7 separate regions of the Homo sapiens genome follow, and regions 1, 2, 3, 4, 5 and 7 are each linked to region 6. The links are contacts of gene promoters, found by promoter capture Hi-C in blood cells and fetal thymus (Javierre and others, 2016). All regions are on one chromosome and are shown on one strand. The core of a region is centred on a gene start or on the middle of the fragment in contact, and the rest is flanking DNA. Distances in the headings are between cores, read along the strand shown.

The links. Contacts are between HindIII fragments. The CHiCAGO score rates a contact against its expected background, and 5 or more counts as called.
Region 1: a contact is called between a fragment that was not itself captured here and the fragment with the promoter of STYK1 in region 6, in 2 of 17 cell types (naive CD8 T cells and total CD8 T cells). The highest score is 10.8, in naive CD8 T cells.
Region 2: a contact is called between a fragment that was not itself captured here and the fragment with the promoter of STYK1 in region 6, in 16 of 17 cell types (naive CD8 T cells, total CD8 T cells, total CD4 T cells and 13 more). The highest score is 29.1, in naive CD8 T cells.
Region 3: a fragment that was not itself captured here is called in contact with the fragment with the promoter of STYK1 in region 6 in 1 of 17 cell types (naive CD8 T cells); the score reaches 5.5 in naive CD8 T cells.
Region 4: a fragment that was not itself captured here is called in contact with the fragment with the promoter of STYK1 in region 6 in 3 of 17 cell types (naive CD8 T cells, total CD8 T cells and neutrophils); the score reaches 8.9 in naive CD8 T cells.
Region 5: a fragment that was not itself captured here is called in contact with the fragment with the promoter of STYK1 in region 6 in 2 of 17 cell types (naive CD8 T cells and total CD8 T cells); the score reaches 6.8 in naive CD8 T cells.
Region 7: a fragment that was not itself captured here is called in contact with the fragment with the promoter of STYK1 in region 6 in 5 of 17 cell types (endothelial precursors, total CD8 T cells, naive CD8 T cells and 2 more); the score reaches 8.0 in endothelial precursors.

The regions. Positions count from the first base shown.
Region 1 is chr12:10,292,405-10,295,104 of GRCh38, forward strand. It overlaps a transcript of KLRD1 not described here. Among named protein-coding and RNA genes, the nearest start is that of KLRD1, 14 kb to the right of the region's middle. The HindIII fragment of the contact is 789 bases long and covers 910-1,698 here.
Region 2 is chr12:10,229,943-10,232,642 of GRCh38, forward strand. No RefSeq gene overlaps it. Among named protein-coding and RNA genes, the nearest start is that of GABARAPL1-AS1, 16 kb to the left of the region's middle. The HindIII fragment of the contact is 8,341 bases long and covers 1-2,700 here.
Region 3 is chr12:10,172,461-10,175,160 of GRCh38, forward strand. It overlaps a transcript of OLR1 not described here and a transcript of TMEM52B not described here. Among named protein-coding and RNA genes, the nearest start is that of OLR1, 1.7 kb to the left of the region's middle. The HindIII fragment of the contact is 1,506 bases long and covers 540-2,045 here.
Region 4 is chr12:10,247,431-10,250,130 of GRCh38, forward strand. It overlaps a transcript of KLRD1 not described here. Among named protein-coding and RNA genes, the nearest start is that of GABARAPL1-AS1, 34 kb to the left of the region's middle. The HindIII fragment of the contact is 6,426 bases long and covers 1-2,700 here.
Region 5 is chr12:10,275,466-10,278,165 of GRCh38, forward strand. It overlaps a transcript of KLRD1 not described here. Among named protein-coding and RNA genes, the nearest start is that of KLRD1, 31 kb to the right of the region's middle. The HindIII fragment of the contact is 3,126 bases long and covers 1-2,700 here.
Region 6 is chr12:10,672,736-10,675,435 of GRCh38, forward strand. It overlaps STYK1 (serine/threonine/tyrosine kinase 1), which reads right to left and starts at 1,317. Exons shown (of 11, transcript NM_018423.3): 1 at 1,231-1,317. The HindIII fragment of the contact is 4,755 bases long and covers 1-2,700 here.
Region 7 is chr12:10,319,129-10,321,828 of GRCh38, forward strand. It overlaps KLRD1 (killer cell lectin like receptor D1), which reads left to right. Exons shown (of 6, transcript NM_002262.5): 6 at 1-2,700. Among named protein-coding and RNA genes, the nearest start is that of KLRD1, 13 kb to the left of the region's middle. The HindIII fragment of the contact is 3,098 bases long and covers 1-2,700 here.

The sequences.
Region 1 (2,700 bases), core at 54-2,553, 380 kb before region 6:
AATGACTCCTTGATTCACGGACTGCCGAATGGATATTGTGTTAGCAGGCTTGAAAATGACATGAATTTCTTTGTACGTCTTCATCAGAGCTCTTGGGTGACCAGGCTCATTCTCAATGAGCCATAACATTTTTAAAGAAATCTTTTTTTCTGAGCACTATGTCTCAACAATGGGCTTAAAATATGTAGCAAACCATGTTGTAAACAGACATGCTGCCATCTGGACTTTGTTGCTCTATATAGAGAGCACAGGTAGAGTAGACTGAGCATAATTCTTAAGGGTCCTAAATTGTTTGGAATGGTAAATGAGCATTGGCTTCAACTTAAGTCACCAGTTAGCCCCTAACAAGAGAGCCAGCCTGTCCTTTGAAGCTTTGAAGCAAGACACTGACTTTTCCTCTCTAGTTATAAAAGTCCTAGATGGCTTTTCCAGAAGCCTGTTTCATGTACACTCAAAATCTGTTGTTTAGTGTAGCCACCTTTATCAATTATCTTAGTTAGATCTTCTGGATAACTTGCTGTAGCTTCTTCATCAGCACTTACTGCTTCACCTTGTACATTTCTATTATTTAGATGGCTTCTTTCTTTAAATCTCAAGAAGCAACCTCTGCTAGTTTCCAATTTTTTTTTTTTCTGCAGCTTTCTCACCTCTCACAGCCTTCATAGAATTGAAGAGTTAGCGCCTTAGGCTTTGGCTTAAAGGAACATTGTGTGGCTGGTTTGATCTTTGATACAGACCAGTAAAACTTTCTCCATATATATATACACATATACACATAATTCGCATGCTCACTGGCATAGCAATTTTGATTTTCTTCAAGTACTCTTTCTTTGCATTCACCATTTGGCTAAATGTTTGACTCAACAGGCCTTTCGGCCTATGTGGGCTTTCAAAATGCCTTCCTCACTAAGCTTATTCATTTCTGGCTTTTGATTTAAAGTAAGAGATGTGTGACTCTTCCTTTCACTTTTACTCTTAGAGGTCATTGTAATGTTATTAACTGGCCTAATTTCAGTGTTGTTGTGTTTCAGGGAATTGGGAGGCCTAAGGAAAGGTAGAGAGATGGACAATCGCTGGCCAGTGAAGCCGTCATAACACTTACATTCATCAATTAATTTCATTATGTTATATGGGCATTGTTTGTTGCACCACAAACCCATTTCAACAGTAACATCAAACATCACTGATCACAGATCACCATAAAAGATATTGCAATAATAGTAAAAAAGTTTTAAATATTGCAAGAATTACCAAGATGTGAGGCAGAGACAGGAAGTGAGCACATGCTTTAAAAAAAAAATGGCACTGATAGACTTGCTAGAGGTAGGGTTGCCACAAAACCTCAATTTGTAAAAAATGCCACACCTGTGAAGCACAATAAAGTGAAGTGCAGTAAAATGAGGTGTGTGTGTATTATCACTGGGGAAACCCAACAGCAGGGACAAGGGAGGTCCCTAAGCTATTTTTGTAACTTTTTTTGTTAATCTATATTCATTTGAAAATAAAAACTGAAAAAAAATCTCAGGGGTTAACAGGCAGTATTTTTATTCCCTTGGTATGAACGCTAGCTATCCTCACTTTCCTTTTCTTCTTATGTCTCAGCCACATTGTTGATTCTGCCTCTCCTACTTAATAAATGGTCGCTGTACATCAAAGATGGTAAATTCAGAGATGGTGGATGTGCTGTTTCCAAATCAAAGCTTGTGAAAGTCATTGCTACTCTTTCTTTCTTGATGAATATGGACTTGAAGATTTCTCTATACAACGCACCCAAATATGTGTTCTTTACTCTTGTCTTTTCCCAAATACTGTATTTTAACATGAATTTGCACATGTAAATCCATGGTGGACTCATTCAGGAAGATCCATCTTAAGAAAAACAAAAAGCAAAATAAAAACAAGCAAGTATGAAGAGGAGTTACCAGTTTGTCAAAGTGCATCCTCCTAGAAGTTTAGTACCTCAAAATTTCCTCTAGATAATCATTCCTACCCATTTTTTTGTTCGTTTTTTTGAGAAGGAGTCTCACTCTATAGCCCAGTCTGGAGTGCAATGGCATGATCTCGGCTCACTGCAACCTCTGCCTCCCAGGTTCAAGCAATTCTCCTGCCTCAGCCTCCTGAGTAGCTGGGACTACAGGCCCATGCCACCATGCCTGGCTAATTTTTTGTATTTTTAGTAGAGACAGGGTTTCACCACATTGGCCAGGCTAGTCTCAAAACTCCTGACCTCACATGATCCACCTGCTTTGGCCTCCCAAAGTGCTGGGATTATAGGTGTGAGCCACTGCACCCGGCCCCCATTTTGTTTTGACTGAAGTTGGACCCACTCTGATATCCAAATTGGGTCCCAACTGAGCCAATCAGTGTATCTTATCCACTGCCCAGGGTAATTTGTGTCCTGCCTATTTAGTGTCAAGGTCATGAAAGTGAGTTCTTGGATGAAGCTTGACACAAAACAATTTATATTATGTGACTATATACGTTATAGTAAGATAAATTATCAAACCAGGCAAAACTGAACTGTACAGGGTTAGAGGTCAAGACAGCGCTAACATCTATAAAGAGAAAGAGGGTAGTAATTGGAAGGTTAAATGAGGAGAGCTTTTGAAGATTCTGGAAATGTTCTATTTCTCGACTTGGATGGTAGTTACAAGAGTGCTGCCTCTCATAAATTATTAAATTTTGTGCTTTTAGTATTTG
Region 2 (2,700 bases), core at 128-2,627, 440 kb before region 6:
CCACTGTGCCCGGCCAAATATTTACTCCTTGATTTAACCCACTGCCACTACTAGGACCAGTGGCACTCACTAATTCACCATAAATTGGGTAAACAGTTACCTTGTTTTTATTAATCTTTCTTAAATGTATGTATAACTCACATTTATTTAAATGTTAAATATTAGAAATGTTTGGGTCTTGGCTGGGTGTCGTGGCTCACGCCTGTAATCCCAGTACTTTGGGAGGCTGAGGCGGGTGGGTCACCTGAGGTCAGGAGTTCGAGACCAGCCTGGCCAACATGGTGAACTCCCATCTCTACTAAAAATACAAAAATTAGCGAGGCATGGTGGCGGGTGCCTGTAATCCCAGCTACTTGGGAGGCCGAGGCAGGAGAATCGCTTGGACTTGGGAGGCAGAAGTTGCAGTGAGCTGAGATCATGCCACTGCACTCTAGCCTGAGCAACAGAGTAAGACTCTGTCTCAAAAAAAAAAAAAAAAAAAAAAAGAAAAAAGAAATGGTTGTGTCTTTTCTGACCAGAAACATGCTGTGGGAAAGTAACTCTTGTTTATATCAATTAGCCTATGATCAAATTAGTCTCATTACATGTTATTTTGCCTAAAGTCATAGTTACCAAGAATCTATTGATGTTAAGTGAGGACTTACTGTACAGAAAACAGCATTTTAAACACAGTTTTATCTATGCAAATGGAATCTTGAGACTACTAGATAAAGTGTTATGAATGAGAGAAATTAACAATCAGTATAAAAATAAGTCTACAATCCAGCATATCTCAGCCTAACAAGGAATGAAGACCTGGGGACCATGATTCGGGTATTTTGTTTGTAACAGATTTATTGGGGCCTATCCAAGGAAAAGTTAAAAATGATCCTTTGAGTTTTTAAAATTTTATTTATCTATGTATGTATGTATTTTCTGAGACACAGTTTCACTCTGTCGCCCAAGCTGGAGTGCAGTGGCACAATATTGGCTCACTGCAACCTCCGCCTCTGGGGTTCAAGTGATTCTTGTGCCTCAGCCTTCCTAGTAGCTGGAATTACAGGCACGTATGTCACCATACCTGGCTAATTTTTGTATTATTAGAAGAGATGGTTTTGCCATATTGGCCAGGCTGGTTTTTTCGTTTTTTTTTTTTTTTTTTTTTTAGATGAAGTCTCACTCTGTCACCCAGGCTGGAGTGCAGTGGCACAATGTCAGCTCACTGCAACCTCCGCCTCCTGGGGTCAAGCGATTTTCCTGCCTCAGCCTCCCCAGTAGCCAGGATTACAGGCGCCTGCCACCATACCTGGCTAATTTTTGTATTTTTAGTAGAGATGGGATTTCACCATGTTGGCCAGGCTGGTCTCGAACTACCAGCCTCAAACTCCACCCACCTCGGCCTCCTAAAGTGCTGGGATTACAGGCGTGAGCCACCGCGTCTGACCTCTTTTAATTGTTATTTTTTGAAGTTGGATAATATTGGTTTTTTACAATCGGCTTATGACTGCTCTAATGTTGGGAGTTTTGTTTGTTTGTTCTTCAAAAACAAAAACAAAAACCCTGGGTCTTTATTGCTACATTCAATTAAAATCCCTATCCATCCTACTGAACAAAATCAATCTCTGCAGTGCTTTCCAACCCTGACTGCACATGACCATCAGTGGTGAGCTCCCAAAAACGTCTGATGGCAGAGCCCCACTTCTGCATCACTCTTGGGGAGGACACCGGAGGGTTTGGCATCCATACTTTTAGTTTTTTTAATTTTTCCCCCCACCGCCCCCTCCCTATGCTATAGGCTCCTTTTTATTGAGGTAAAATTCACATAATGTAAAATTCATGGCATCTTTACTTTTTACAAGCCTCTTAAGTGATATGTATAGCCAGGGTTGTGGTCGACTCAACTGGGTGCTCTTTGTTTAACAACACATTGGGAACAGTTCTGGAAATAGCCGCTTGTGATGGTTAAGTTTATGTGTCAACTTGACTGAGCTATAGGGATGCCCAGATAGGTAGCGAAACATTATCCGTGGCTGTTTCTGTAAGGGTGTTTCCGGAAGCGGTTAGCGTTTGAATCAGTAGACCTAGTAAAGAAGATCCTCTCCCACCAATGTAGGCAGGTGTCACTCAATCCATTGAGGGCCTCCATCGAACAAAAGTTAGAGGGTAGAGAGTCCCTCTTTCTGTCCATGAGCTGGGACATCCACAGCTCCTGGTCTCAGACCTTTAAACTTGGATTGAATTATACCACTGACTTTCCTGGTTCTCCTGCTTGCAGACAGATGGTGAGGTTTCTCAGACTCCATAAGCCTCCATGAGCCAATTTCTATAAGAATAATAAATCTCTCTCTTTATTTATATGTAGATATTTATATACATATAGTCTTTATATGCATTTATATCTAGTCATGTGCTACATATAGATATTTCAGTCAATGACAGCCTGTATACATGATGGTTATCCCATAAGATTATAACACCATGTTTTTACTGTACCTCTTCTATGTTTAGATATGTTTATATACACAAATACTTACCATTGTGTTCCAATAGCCTGTGCTGTTCACTCCAGTAATGTGCTGAATGGGTGTGTAGCCTAGGAGCAATAGGCTATACCGTATAGCCTAGGTGTGTAGTAGTTATATCGTCTAGGTTTGTGTAAATACACTCTATGATGTTCACACAATGATGAAGCCCCCAATAACACATTTCTCCGAACATTTC
Region 3 (2,700 bases), core at 43-2,542, 500 kb before region 6:
CAAAATATTTGATTCCAATGTTTGTTTGCTAATTTCATTAGCAGACTGTTTCTATATGGTGTCTTTTACGAATCAGATATATTCTCTTTTGATTTTCACTGTTTTATCTGGCAATGGATCTAAGAATTTTGGGGTGAATCACATATGGCTCCCATTTCCAGCGATGGTGTGTCCTGGGTGATTTTAGAATTTATCTGGGGCTACTAGTTCATGCAGTGCCAGTGTAACGTAGCAGCAGAGAGCACTTTGAATGCAGAAAGAGCTAGTTTCAGTACTTTCCTTTAGTCTACAATCTTGGGAAATCTTAATACTTTGAATCTATGTCTTTGTCTGGAAATTAGGGATAATGTCTACCTGATAACATTGTTATAGGAATTCAAATGACATGTCTGGAAATTAGGGATAATGTCTACCTGATAACATTGTTATAGGAATTCAAATGACATGCTGGGTAAAAATAATAAGCTTTTTTACACTAGGTTTGTGAAAAATGTCACGTTGCTATAGGAATTCAAATGACACGCTGGTTAAAAATGACAAGCTTTGTACTTGGAGCATAATAAGAAGCCAATAAATAATAATTATTAGTATAGTACTAATATTCAGCACAGTTGAATTACCCATCAAATAATGTATTTCAGTAAAATCCATGATTGACTCATGTCACAAAGACGCTTACATGAGAGACCCATAAGTATGTCTATATGTATTTACTGATAGAATACTTTTCTATTTTCCCTTGACAACCTCCTAACCAGATATATATCTATTAGAGATGTCTTCTGAAGGAAGTATTTATAAGCAAAATGATATGATATCTGGCATTTACTTTAAATTACTCCAGGAAAAAAAAGTGCAAAGAAAAGAATACACAAAGGAAGAATGGAAAAATAAATACATAAATAAAACATATAGGAAACTATTAGGAAAAATTACCAATATTGACAGCCTAATTAGGATTCCATTTCCCTCCTCCTCCCTGTTTCCTATATTCCTTTTATTATGTGCAGAGTATTTGAGAACAAATTGAAAAAGTTGGCCAGGTGCAGTGGCTCATGCCTGTAATCTCAGCACTTTGGGAAGCTGAGGGGGGGGGTGGATCACTGAGGTCAGGAGTTCGAGACCAGCCTGGCCAACCTGTTGAAACCCTGTCACCACTAAAAATACAAAAGTTAGCTGGGCCTGGTTGCAAGCCTATAATCCCAGCTATTTGGGAGGTGGAAAATGAAAATGCTTTTCATTTTCAGTGAGCTGAGATTGTGCCACTGTACTCCAGCCTGGGCAACAGAGCGAGACTCCCTTTAAAAAAAAAAAAAAAAAAGAATTAAAAAATACTGAAACGATATCACACTGAAAAGGGCACATTATCATTTCTACAGTGACTCAGTTATTTTGGATGCCATGAATATTATAGAACATAAAGTGTTTACCATTTCAACCATTTTTAGGTGTACTGTTCAGTGGCATTAAGTACATTTACATTGTTGTGCAGCCATCACCACCATCCATCTCCAGAACTTTTCATCTTCCCCAACTGAAACTCTATACCCACCAAGCAATAACTCCTGTGATGGTGAATTTCATGTGTTTTGTTTGTTTGTTTGTTTGTTTGTTTTTGAGATGGAGTTTCACCCTTGTTACCCAGGGTGGATTGCAATGGCATGATCTCGGCTCACTGCAACCTCCGCCTCCTGGGTTCAAGCAATTCTCCTGCCTCAGCCTCCTGAGTAGCTGGGATTACAGGTGCCCGCCACCCCTCCCGGCTAATTGTTTTGTATTTTCAGTAGAGACAGGGTTTCACCATGTTGGCCAGGCTGGTCTTGAACTCCTGTCCTCAAGTGATCCGCCTGCCTCAGCCTCCCACAGTGCTGGGATTACAAGCGTGAGCCACCGTGCTGGCCTTCTGTGTCTTCTTGACTGGGTCATGGGGTTCCCAGACAGGATGCTTTTAAATGAGATTAACATATTAATCAGAAGAGGAAAGTAGATTTCGCTGCATAATGTAGGTGGGCCTCATCCAAAAGTTGAAGGCCTAAAGAACAAAAAGCTTCTAACCTTCCCCCAAATAAGAAAGAATCCCCCAGCTGTCTATGGACTGGAACTCAGCCATCAACTCTCCCAGTTCTCCACTCGCTGGCCGAGTCTGGCAGCCCACACTCCAGATTTTAAATTACCAGGCTCTATAATCATACAAGCCAATTCCTTATAATAAACCTATTTCTATGTATGTACACAGCGTATTGATCCTCTTTCTCTGCACAGACCTAATACAAATCCCAATTCCTTTCTCCTTTCTTGGAAACCACCGTTCCATTTTTTTGTTTCTATAAATTGGTTTATTTTAGGCACCTCATACTGGTGGAATCATATAATATTTGTCCTTTTGTATCTAAATTATTTTATTTAGCATTATGTCTTCAACAATTATCAATGTGGTAGCATGTGTCAGAATTTTGTTCCTTTTAAAGTCTGTATAATATTCCATTGTATGTATAAACCACATTCTACATTTTATTTATCCATTGATGGACGTTTGGGTTTATCCTGTTTTTAAAGATCAGTGGGATAGTTTCTACAGTCCTTGTGTGGCAGATAACTGGACAGATTTGAAAAATTTTAGAGGGCTCTCATTATTCCTGCCTCCTGGTGTTCATGATCTTGTGTAATCCTTCCCCTTGAGTGTGAGTGAGACCTATGACT
Region 4 (2,700 bases), core at 5-2,504, 430 kb before region 6:
TAAGTAGATGTACTAATTTTTGTATAACATTTTTAGAAAATTTAATACCTTTCCATCTTAGGCTTGATGCAGTGTTTTGTGTGTTTTTTAAGACTTATTCATTTTTATAATAGAGTTTGCTTCACTTTCATATTTTATTTTCTTTAATCTAATTTAGTGAGTCTAAGATACATTGTGGTATAGTTTGGCTCTGTCCCAAACCAAATCTCATCTTGAATTGAAGTTCCCCTAATCCCCACATGTCATGGGAGGGACCAAGTGGGAAGGTAATTAAATCATGGGAGCAGTTGCACCCATGCTATTCTCATGATAGTGAGTGAGTTCTCATAACATCTGATGGTTTTATAAGGGGCTTTTCTCCCTTTACTTGGCATTTCTCTGTCCCGGCCACCCAGTGAAGAGGGACGTATTTGCTTCCCCTTCTGCCACGATTGAGACCTCTGCAGCCATGCAGAGCTGTGAGTCAATTAAACCTCTTTCCTTTACAAATTACCCAGTCTCGAGTATGTCCCTATAGCAGCATGAGTACGGACTAATACATATTGTTTTTTACATTTTAATGTCTCTGAAATTAGCATGCCTCTCAAAATATATGAAGTCTTACAGTCACTGCTGGCCAGGAGACAGTTGCAATGTGCACATGCGTGACCTTGATTTTCACTGGTGCTAGTGTCACTGCTTCAGTGAAGTTATGTACATTGTTGGTCCTGCATGTTTTACTCATCACATCATTTAGACACCGTCATAGGATGGAATGGAAATTCTCTGATCCTGTTTTTTTCCCCACAATTTTTCTAATCCTGTTTTAAAAAAAAATCTATGAGACTTTTACAGATCAAGAAATCACCATCAAAAAACTCTAAATAATGAGCATCAGAAGCTACAAAGAAAATCTTGGAGACATTAGAGGGGCACTCTTTTTAAAAAAATGGTACATGACTATTGTTCTTTATGGCACAGAAAACAATATTGTGTTGAAAACAATTATGGTAATGATAAGTATGTTTTGTCTGCTTTATTGACACTAATAAACTTCTTAATATTTTATTTTTATGTTTATTTTATTGTGTGAAATCAGTTTTATTTAAATGTATTTTCTTTTCCTTCCTTCCTTCCTTCCTTCCTTCCTTCCTTCCTTCCTTCCTTCCTTCCTTCCCTTCTTTTCTTCTTTTCTTTCTTTTTTTTTTTTCAGAGTCTCTCTCTGTTGCCCAGGCTGGAGTGCAATGGCGTGATCTCGGCTCACTGCAACCTCCGCCTCCTGGGTTCAAGTGATTCTCCTGCCTCAGCCTCCCAAGTAGCTGGGATTACAGGTGCCCGCCACCACACCCGGCTACTTTTTGTATTTTTAGTAGAGATGGGGTTTCACCATGTTGTCTAGGCTGGTCTTGAACTCCTGACCTCAGGTGATCCACCCACCTCGGCCTCCCAATGTGTTGGGATTACAGGCGTGAGCCACCATGCCTGGCCATAAGTATACTTTCCGCTTGATGATTGCACTTTTTGTTTTCTTTGAATCATATGCTTAGATAGAACATCATTACCATTCTGTTACAATGGAGATTTTAACATGTTCACACTTGAAAATATCAATTTTGAATTCCATTTGCATCTATAATTATATCAGGTTTAAACTCACATACAATAAACTATATACGACGGATAATGTGTCCTCTATTATTCTACCCATAAACAAAGTAAATGTATTTCCAAACATGGAGTCATTGGCATCAGCCAACCGGTGGGGGAGATTCTAAATTAGGCTTAACAGGGGACAGGGGAGTTGCTAACATCCCTTACAGTAAACTACTGAGGCAGTCCTTGATTCTGCCACATTATGAGGATTTTATACATAAGGTATTTCATGAAAGAAAGAGAAATAGTAAAACTGCACCAAAGGAGAAACAGTATTGAATTGCAAACAAAGAAGACAGAAGAAACAATAACAACAGTTAACAATGCTTTCTCATTCAATCCCTAGAAAAACCTTGTGATGAGGATACTTTTATCCCCTTCATTTTACAGATGTGGAAAAAGTAGATTAGGGAATTCAACTGGACCAAAGTTATAAATATAGTAAGTGACACAACTCAAACTAATATCTTGCCTTCTCTGGTATCAAACTTGTGCCCTTATCATATATCAAAATGCTTCCAAGAAAATTAAATATACGGTTTGCAACCAGTGGAGAAACTCTTGGGGAAATCGTCAATTTTTTAAAAAAGAATTTATTGAGAAGCATCCTTGAAACAACTTGAAAAAAGAGTAAGAAATTATTTCATACTTAATTTTCTACAAAGAACAAAATAATGAATCTCACATTTATCACACATATGCAGTGAGAAGGACTCCTGGAGGCTGTAGCAGTCAGTGCCTTTCACACAGGAAGGGACCCTTACTCTGAGCTCTGCTAAGCAGAAGGGTGGTAGTGTCCCATGGTGGCTCGTAATGCATTTCTTGACCCAATGACTTCCTTTGTGGTTTCATCAGAGTTCGCAGGAGCTGCCATCACTCTAGCTTTATGGTTTTCAACTCTAACAAAGTGAGGAGTATAGTAGTCCTTTTGTTTTCTCGAAGACCATTAGGATCACTTGTTGTACATACGTTGTCCGTCATGCTCAGATTTCCTAGGAATTCAACTTCTGTCCTGAGTCTCTGCCTTTATTTCTATCCTGGTGCGTTAGGCTGTCAACCTAGAAGGAA
Region 5 (2,700 bases), core at 173-2,672, 400 kb before region 6:
GTTAATGCAACCTGCAAATCCACATGATGTCTGGCTCCAGAGATACTATTTCAGGAAGAAAATGTTCTTTCAACCATCGGGGGAAGCTGATTTAGTTTAAGTTTACCTTATCCGAAGCATGTAGTTAGGGTTAGGTGTTGCGGGAATTGTTGAGTTACTTGAGAAACCAGGTATTCAAAGTTCACAGTTACAATGGAATGTTATTTTAGTCATACCTCTAATATCAAGTGAGATAATATGCAAAACTGCGTTTGTATATCCTCCACTCTTTTTAAGATAAACTTTTATGATAATAAAAATTACCAATTAGATAAATCAATTAATATTTTTCCCTCTGAAATATGACAAACATACAGGAAAGGACAGAAAACATATATGTAGAGATTAATGAATAATGATAAAAGTTAAGTAAAGATAGATATTACCACACCCCAGAGTGTTTCCTGCATTGATCCTCCTTATTACAATGCTTCCTCCTAGAATTAATCATTCTTCTGATTTTCTTGCTTCTTATGCACATATTCTTAGTAGCTTTTTTGCTTATTTTAATTATATTTGTGTGAATAGAATGAAACTATACTTTTTTTGCATTGTTTTATTCTGTATTTATTAGAGTTATCTGTGTTGCTGTGGACAGCTGTAGTTTACTTGTGTATGTAATTTCTTTGTATGATATACTCTCAATCAGTTTACTTACTCTACCTTTGATGGACATTTAATTGCTTTCTTTTCAGGACTATTATAAATAATAGTCCTTGGATGTTCTCTGTATTTCTTAAATTATCACCTCACTACACTTGTAATCTATATTTAAAATTATAATATGTTTTCTGTTCTTGTGCTTTGTTTGTTTGGATATTTAGTGACTAGGTCGGTATATGGGTATAAATGTTTATAAATTTCTCTAGGGTAGCCTTTGACATTTTCTGTTTATCACAGCCTTTTAGTATCTTTATCCTTTTGGCCTTTGCTCACTTCCTGTAAGAGAGATGGTTTAAGGGCAGTGATCAAAATTTGAAAATAACAACAAAATATCTTGGTATTGAGAATAAGAAATTTTTCTTTTTCTTTTTTTCTTTTGAATCGGAGTTTCGCTCTTGTTGCCCAGGCTGGAGTGCAATGGCATGATCTCTGCTCACCACAACCTCCCCGTCCCAGGTTCAAGCGATTCTCCTGCCTCAGCCTCCCGAGTAGCTGGGATTACAGGCATGTGCCACCATAAAATTTGACAAAAAAAAAAAAAAAGTAAAATAATGGTCAATTTCCAGTGATAATCAAGGTGAAATTTGAGAGCCTGATATGAATTAGCACCAGGAAGTTTGACCTCTATCCTCAGAATATGCAATCTGGACACAGAAAAAGAGAAGATGAAGTTTCTTTTTAAAAATTTTAATTATTCTTTTCTGCATACTTAGTGACAAGAGATGATGAAATTTAATTTAGCTGCATGCCACAGTTAATTAGGCGTATGTAATGGAAAATAAGAAATAAGTGGAAACAAAATCATTCAGATGACTCACCATTAAGTCTAGTTTTGTGTGGTTAGGGCATGGCAGTAGCAACAAATGAGAAAATAAAAGTCAAGCCTGAAGAAGAAATTAAGCAGAATGAATGAAATAAATACAAAGGCAAATGTTGGCCTCACAGAGTTTTTTTTTTTTTTTTTTTTTTTAGATATTTGATATTCCAAAGGTAGAGGTGGGTTTCTGATCTATCTCAAACATGCAGGGTACATGGAACTGTAGACTCACTGAGACTCACCCATTTAACTGTATCCCCACTACTGATTCTAATTGCATGAAATATTTAGACCTTTAATACATTCACTGAGCTAAGAAAAGCAAGGAGGAAGCGGAAAAGGGAAAAATATAAACAAATGTTATTAACTCCCTATTTGATAGTCATTTTAATTTTTATTATAGGGGAGAACTTAGTCCCTAAATAAATCAATTGCTATTTTGGTTTTGGATAGGTGGTGGTGTTTTTTTACTGAGTTTATTATTATTTTCCCACTTCATGGTGGAAAAGAATGAAGGAGAGTAGAATTTGGAAGCTGAATTTGTGAATTTGGGACTCAGTTCTGCCATTGATTGATTATGTTATGATATGCAAACAGCCTATATAAAAATGATTTTTTTACTTCACTTATTTCTTTTCTAAAATTGTATAAAAATATTTCACAGGTGATTCTGAGAATCACAATTAAAATGTATTTGAATACAATCTTAACTGTGATATACTATTTAGAAATTATAATTTTTATTTATTTTATGATATTACTTCAATTAGTCCCTCTGATTTTTAAAAATTAGTAGACTTTATGTTTTAGAAAAGTTTTAGATTACAGAAAATATTGATCAGTTAGTGCAGACTCAATCAACAGCTTAATTCCAACTGGTCTCATCAGAGAATGTGGACATCTGTATTTTACATGTACATCTGTGATTCCTTTCAGGTTAAATTTTGTGAAAGGTTTAAAGTCTGTGCACTATTTGATCTCTACCAGTGCTGCCTGGATTTATCGTTATTCTGGACATGACAACACAGCGACCATCATAGACTGGCAGAGAGTGAAGGACTGTTTCTTATGCAGAGGCTTCCACTGCATGCCAGACTTGTGGCCCCTGCCTAAGATGATCCTATTGTTTTCTGGAGGAGGAGACCACATTGCACAGGGTATTGCCCCTACTCACTTTTGGC
Region 6 (2,700 bases), core at 67-2,566:
AAAAGCCATGCAGTTTGTGGTACCTTGTTACAGCAGCCCTAGCAAACTCACACAGTAATGGAGGCACTGAACGAAAAAGTATATGATTTTCATTGAAGCAAATACTTCATGATGTCTCATTGAAAGACCTAGCTGCCCCCTAGCTAGCTGTCAGTGGAGATTCCGGTGCATTGAGGGGGAAAAACCAGGTAGACAGCACAGAGTTCTGTTTCCAGGTGTATTTCAGTTGAGCTGTGCTGCACATTACAGTAACTCGACTCCTTTATTGCCACTACTTCCCACCGAGTGGGAAGGAAGTGTGGTCTCATAGGTATAAGAAACTCCAATGTGGAGAGGACCCATTACAGAAGGAAGCAACAATCGCATAAATGAAAGAAAGAAAGGGGGGATGAAGGGTTGATAGAGAAAAATGAAAGAGGAAAAAAGACATTGAAAAGAAAACAGAGGCTAAAATGGTGAAACCCCGTCTCTACTAAAAATACAAAAAAATAAATAGCCGGCCGTGGTGGTGGGAGCCTGTAATCCCAGCTACTTGGGAGGCTGAGGCAGGAGAATCGCTTGAACCTGGGAGGCGGAGGTTGCAGTGAACCGAGATCGCGCCATTGCACTCCAGCCTGAGTGACAGAGCAAGACTCCCTCCCCCACTCCCCACCCCAAATAAAAAGAAGGAAAGAAAACAGAGATTCAGTCAACAAGGGATAGCACATCAGGCTGTACACTTTTAAAGCATGGTTATTGATATCTCATTTAAATATCGCAACAACCCTGGAAAGTAATTACCGTATTTATGCTTTGCAGATGAGGAAGCCGAAGCTGAAAGCAACGATTCCATGGTCTGAAAGGCTATGCAGTCCTCTGACAAGTAATTCCTGTAACCTCATTCTTTCCCTTCCCCCTCTCCTGATGGCCCCCTCTCCAGGAATAAACAGAGGTCCCCCATTCCTGGGTTTTCTCATGTTTCTCTCTGCACCAAATCTGCTGAGTCAGGTTTACTCCCTTATCATATAGAAACACAGAAGCCAAACCCCACAAGATGCTGGTTCCGAAGAAACACAGGTTAATTCACTTGGTGATTTCTGTTTGTTCACATAAACACCCGTTCCGCTCCCAGCCTCTTCCCTTTTTCTCCCTCCCCAACTGCAAAGTCCTCCCCCAGCTGCCTCGCTGCCATTCCCTTCCCACCTTCTTTACCCTCCCCGCCGCGCCCGCCCCCCATACCCCGTTCACTACCGTGTCCCTCCTCTGGTCACTCCGGTTTCCGATGGCACCGGCCCAGTCGGAGGGGAAATAATGACAGGGTTGGGTAGGGCAAGGTGTGCCAGCCTCAAGGAAATGCTTTTCAGTCCCTCCTTCCCACTGCGGGGCGTGGCTGCCGGCAAAGGATGGAGTTCGGGCGGGCTCCCGCGAAGGGAAGTCTGCGGGCTCCGAGGTTTCCGGGACTCGCCACACTCGAGCCACAGGAAACCTCTGCTGCAACTGTAAAGGCTGGACTTGTTGCTGATCTATACTCATTTCCTACTCTAGTGATTGCTAGATGTCAGGTATCACGGTGACTCCAGTCCAGGTGAAAACGGAGTCACGATACAGGGCAACAGCGCCACCTCACGGCCGGCCCCGTAGCAGCGGCCTCCATTGGCGCCTAAAAATGGTCAGGATTCACATTCAGGTGGATTATTCCGCGCCAGGAACATTCTCCACCTGAAGGCTTTGCCGGGGTGTTACAAGATAATACTGAAGGGACGGGAGTGGTGGCTTACGCCTGTAATCCCAGAACTTTGAGAGGCCAAGGCGGGTGGATCACCTGAGGTCAGCAGTTCGAGACCAGCCTGGCCAACGTGGCGAAACCCCGTCTCTACTAAAAATACAAAAATTAGGCGTGATGGCGGGCGCCTATAATCCCAGCTACTCAGGAGGCTGAAGCAGGAGAATCTCTTGAACCCAGGAGGCAGAGATCGCATAGAGCCGAGATTGTGCCACTGCATTGCAGCTTGGGCGACAGAGCAAGACTCCGTCTCAGAAAAAAAAAAAAAAAAAAGAAAAAAAAAAGTACTGACCACTGCGGAGACGTGGGGGAACCTATAAGGAATTAATGAGAATTAAAACCCCAAGATTACGTAATAGATCATTCATTTAGAGCCCGCGCGCGCGCGCGCGCGCACACACACACACACACACACACACACACATATATCCCATTATGTCCTGGGTTCTCCTCTGGGGAAACAGTGAACAAGGTAGTTATGTTACCCGTCCACATGGAAACTAAAATAATAGAAAATACTTAAGACAATAGATAGCTGAAGGAATTCTGTTAGATATTAACACCTAATACAAATTCAATTAAAGAAATAAGAGTCATAGGTAACTTGAATATGTGACCAATTTATTCAGCATTGAACGCATACCAAACACAAACTGACAGTCATTAGAGCAAAAAGAACTTGAGTCAATGTAATGTGGCATATTTAGAGATTGAGGTATGTCAGTTCTCTAGAGCTTTCTCTATTGGCATTTTCACTTCCTTCAGGGCTTTTTAAAAACAGGATGAATTGTACTTAATGCCACTGAACTGTTCATTTTTAAATGGCTAATGGTTGATTTTATGTTATGTGAATTTTACCTCAAAAGGGGAAAGGAAGACATCTCATCAGTTAGTTGTTCTTTAGATTCTTTATGTCATAAGTGATACATCAAATCCAA
Region 7 (2,700 bases), core at 37-2,536, 350 kb before region 6:
AAGAATTTTATTGACAAAACATATGGTGAGACAGATTTGGTCCACAGGCCATAGTTTGCCAACATGTGCCCAAGTATGTAAGATGAGAATATAAGGCCATAAATTCTACTCTCTGCTTTATTCTTTTCCAGGTCACTTCTTACCAGTTGTAAATGTACTTACAAATTTTGCTATATGAAAACAGTTATGTCTGTTACTATCAATCTGTGTTCATTTTAAAGGGTGACAATCTACAAATTATGTGTTATAGACAAGTTGCAAGATGTTCACCAATGATTCCCACCTTGTGCTATACATGCCTTGGTGGAATTTCTTTCCACATTGTATCAAGGTTGCTCTGTGTGACCAATGAAATAAAGTGGAAATGATGATATTTCATTTCTGAGAATAGGTCATCAAAGATAGTATGACTTCCTTTTTCCTCTCTCCCAGATTACTTGATCTGGGGAAAACCAGTTATAATGTCATGAGCAGCCCTGTTGAAAGGACCATGCGGCAAGGAACTGAAGACTCTTACACACAGCCAGCAAGGAACTGAAGTCTATTTCCAATAGCCATGCTATGAGCCTTCTTTGCTTGTATAGGCTCCAGTCTTAGTCAAGCCTTCAGATGATTACAGCCCCCAGCCAACACCTTGACGGCAACCTCATGAGAGACCCTGAGCTAGGTCCATCGTGCTATGCTGTTCGAGGATTCCTCACTCTCAGAAGCTGTGTGAAATAGTAAAGTGTTTATTCTTTTTTTTTTTTTTTTTTTTGACAGAGTCTCACTCTGTCACCTGGGCTGGAGTGCAGTGGGGCCATGTCGGCTCACTGCAACTTCTGCCTCCTGGATTCAAGCAATTCTCCTGCCTCAGCCTCCTGAGCAGCTGGGATTACAGGTGTGCACCACCACTCCTGGCTAATTTTTTTGTATTTTTAGTACAGACGGGGTTTCACCATGTTGGTCAGGCTGGTCTTGAACTCCTGACCTCAGGTGATCTGCCTACCTCACCCTCCCAAAGTGCTGGGATTACAGGCGTGAGCCACTGCGCCCAGACATAACTTTTATTCTTTTAAGTCACTAAATATTAACGTGTCACATAGCAATAATCAATACATATTTTGGTACCAAGAATGAAGTTACTATTATAAAGAAAAAAAAAAACCACTAAAATTTTGGAGTGCTTGAAAACAGGCAGTGGATGGAGGCCAAAAGGACAGGAAAGACTGAAACCTTCTAGTATGGGCTTATAGTAGGGAAGTGAAAACATATTAGAAACTGGAGAAAGTAAAAATCTTTCTATTTAGTACCAGAAAGTTTAGCAACACTTTTGTCTGTAGCATTGTGGAAAGTAGAAAATGTACTTAATGATTTAAGAGAATGCTCTAAACTTATTTCCAACTAGAGTGTTGAATATCTTGTCTGATTTCTTCCTACTACTTATATTACAATGCTATAGAACACACATAAGCTAATGGAAGGGCTGTTGAGCAAAAGAAGACAGAACTTGATAGTTTTGAGATTCCTGGACTCTCAAATGTTAGCATGTCAAAAATGCTAAAATTGAGAAATAGATTCTGAGCAAAGATCCAATCTAGAGTGCTCTCAGGAAAGCATGATTCTAAACAAGAAGGTGTGGGTGTGACTGAAATTTCCTGTAAATATCATAGAAAGAACACAAGTAGTGCCTCAATTCAGTCAGATGAAGATCTATAAAGGTCAAATAATAGGGCTTCTAGGAAGCCCCAGGGTATTGTCCCTCAGGTATCTCAGCAGAAGCTCCAGGTAGAGAGAAGATTGAAGAGATTTATGTGTGCGGTTTTTACAAATAGAGTTCATAGAAAACCTCAAAACACTTTTGAGATGACTATGTCAGTAGAAAATTGACAATGAATTGCTACCTTTTATTCAAAAGTAAGAATAATTCAAAGGACAGAACTAAGAGCCTGTAAGGTGGATCCAAGAGTTATGAAGAGTGATTTTATAAGCAGAAATAGGACTGAGTCCTAATCAAATGAGTCCCGACATTTGCTATGCTAGATTTTAAATTATTATGCATCAGTGACTCCTTTGTAATTCTCATGCCCCTCCCTCTTTTGAACAAGGATGTCTATAGTTTGTTCTTTCGAATGTTGAGTGTATAAGGGAAGGAAATCTCTAGTATTGTTAATTTCACAAGCCTTCACATGGAGAAAAATGATACTCAAGAAGCTAAACTTAAGGAACTTCACCTGATGAGTCTCACTCATACCTGGATGTGACAAATTTCGGACTTTGAACTGACATTGTAACGGAATGAGATTTGGCAGTTGGTGTGGATTTTGTATGTGGGAGGGACATAAATCATTTGGGGCCAAAGATTAGACTCTTGTAAACAGCTTCCTATATGCTCCCAATGATCCCTGTTTCTTGGAATTTAACCCTTTTGATATAATCAATTACATTGTATAAGGGTTGATCACTGTGACCAAGAGAATAAGGCAGAAGTTATCGCATATCACTTTTGAGGCTAGATTATAAAAGACAGTATGTCTTTGGCGTTGCCCTTTCTCATATCATCTGATTTGGTGGAAGCCAGCTACCTTGTCGTGAGCAACTCTTTTAAGCGTTCCATGTGGCAAAGAACTGAGGCCTCCTATAAACAGCTAGCAAGGAACTGCAGCCATCTTGTAGACAGCCTTGTGCACGAGCCTCCTTGGTTCAACTCTTCAGCCAGTG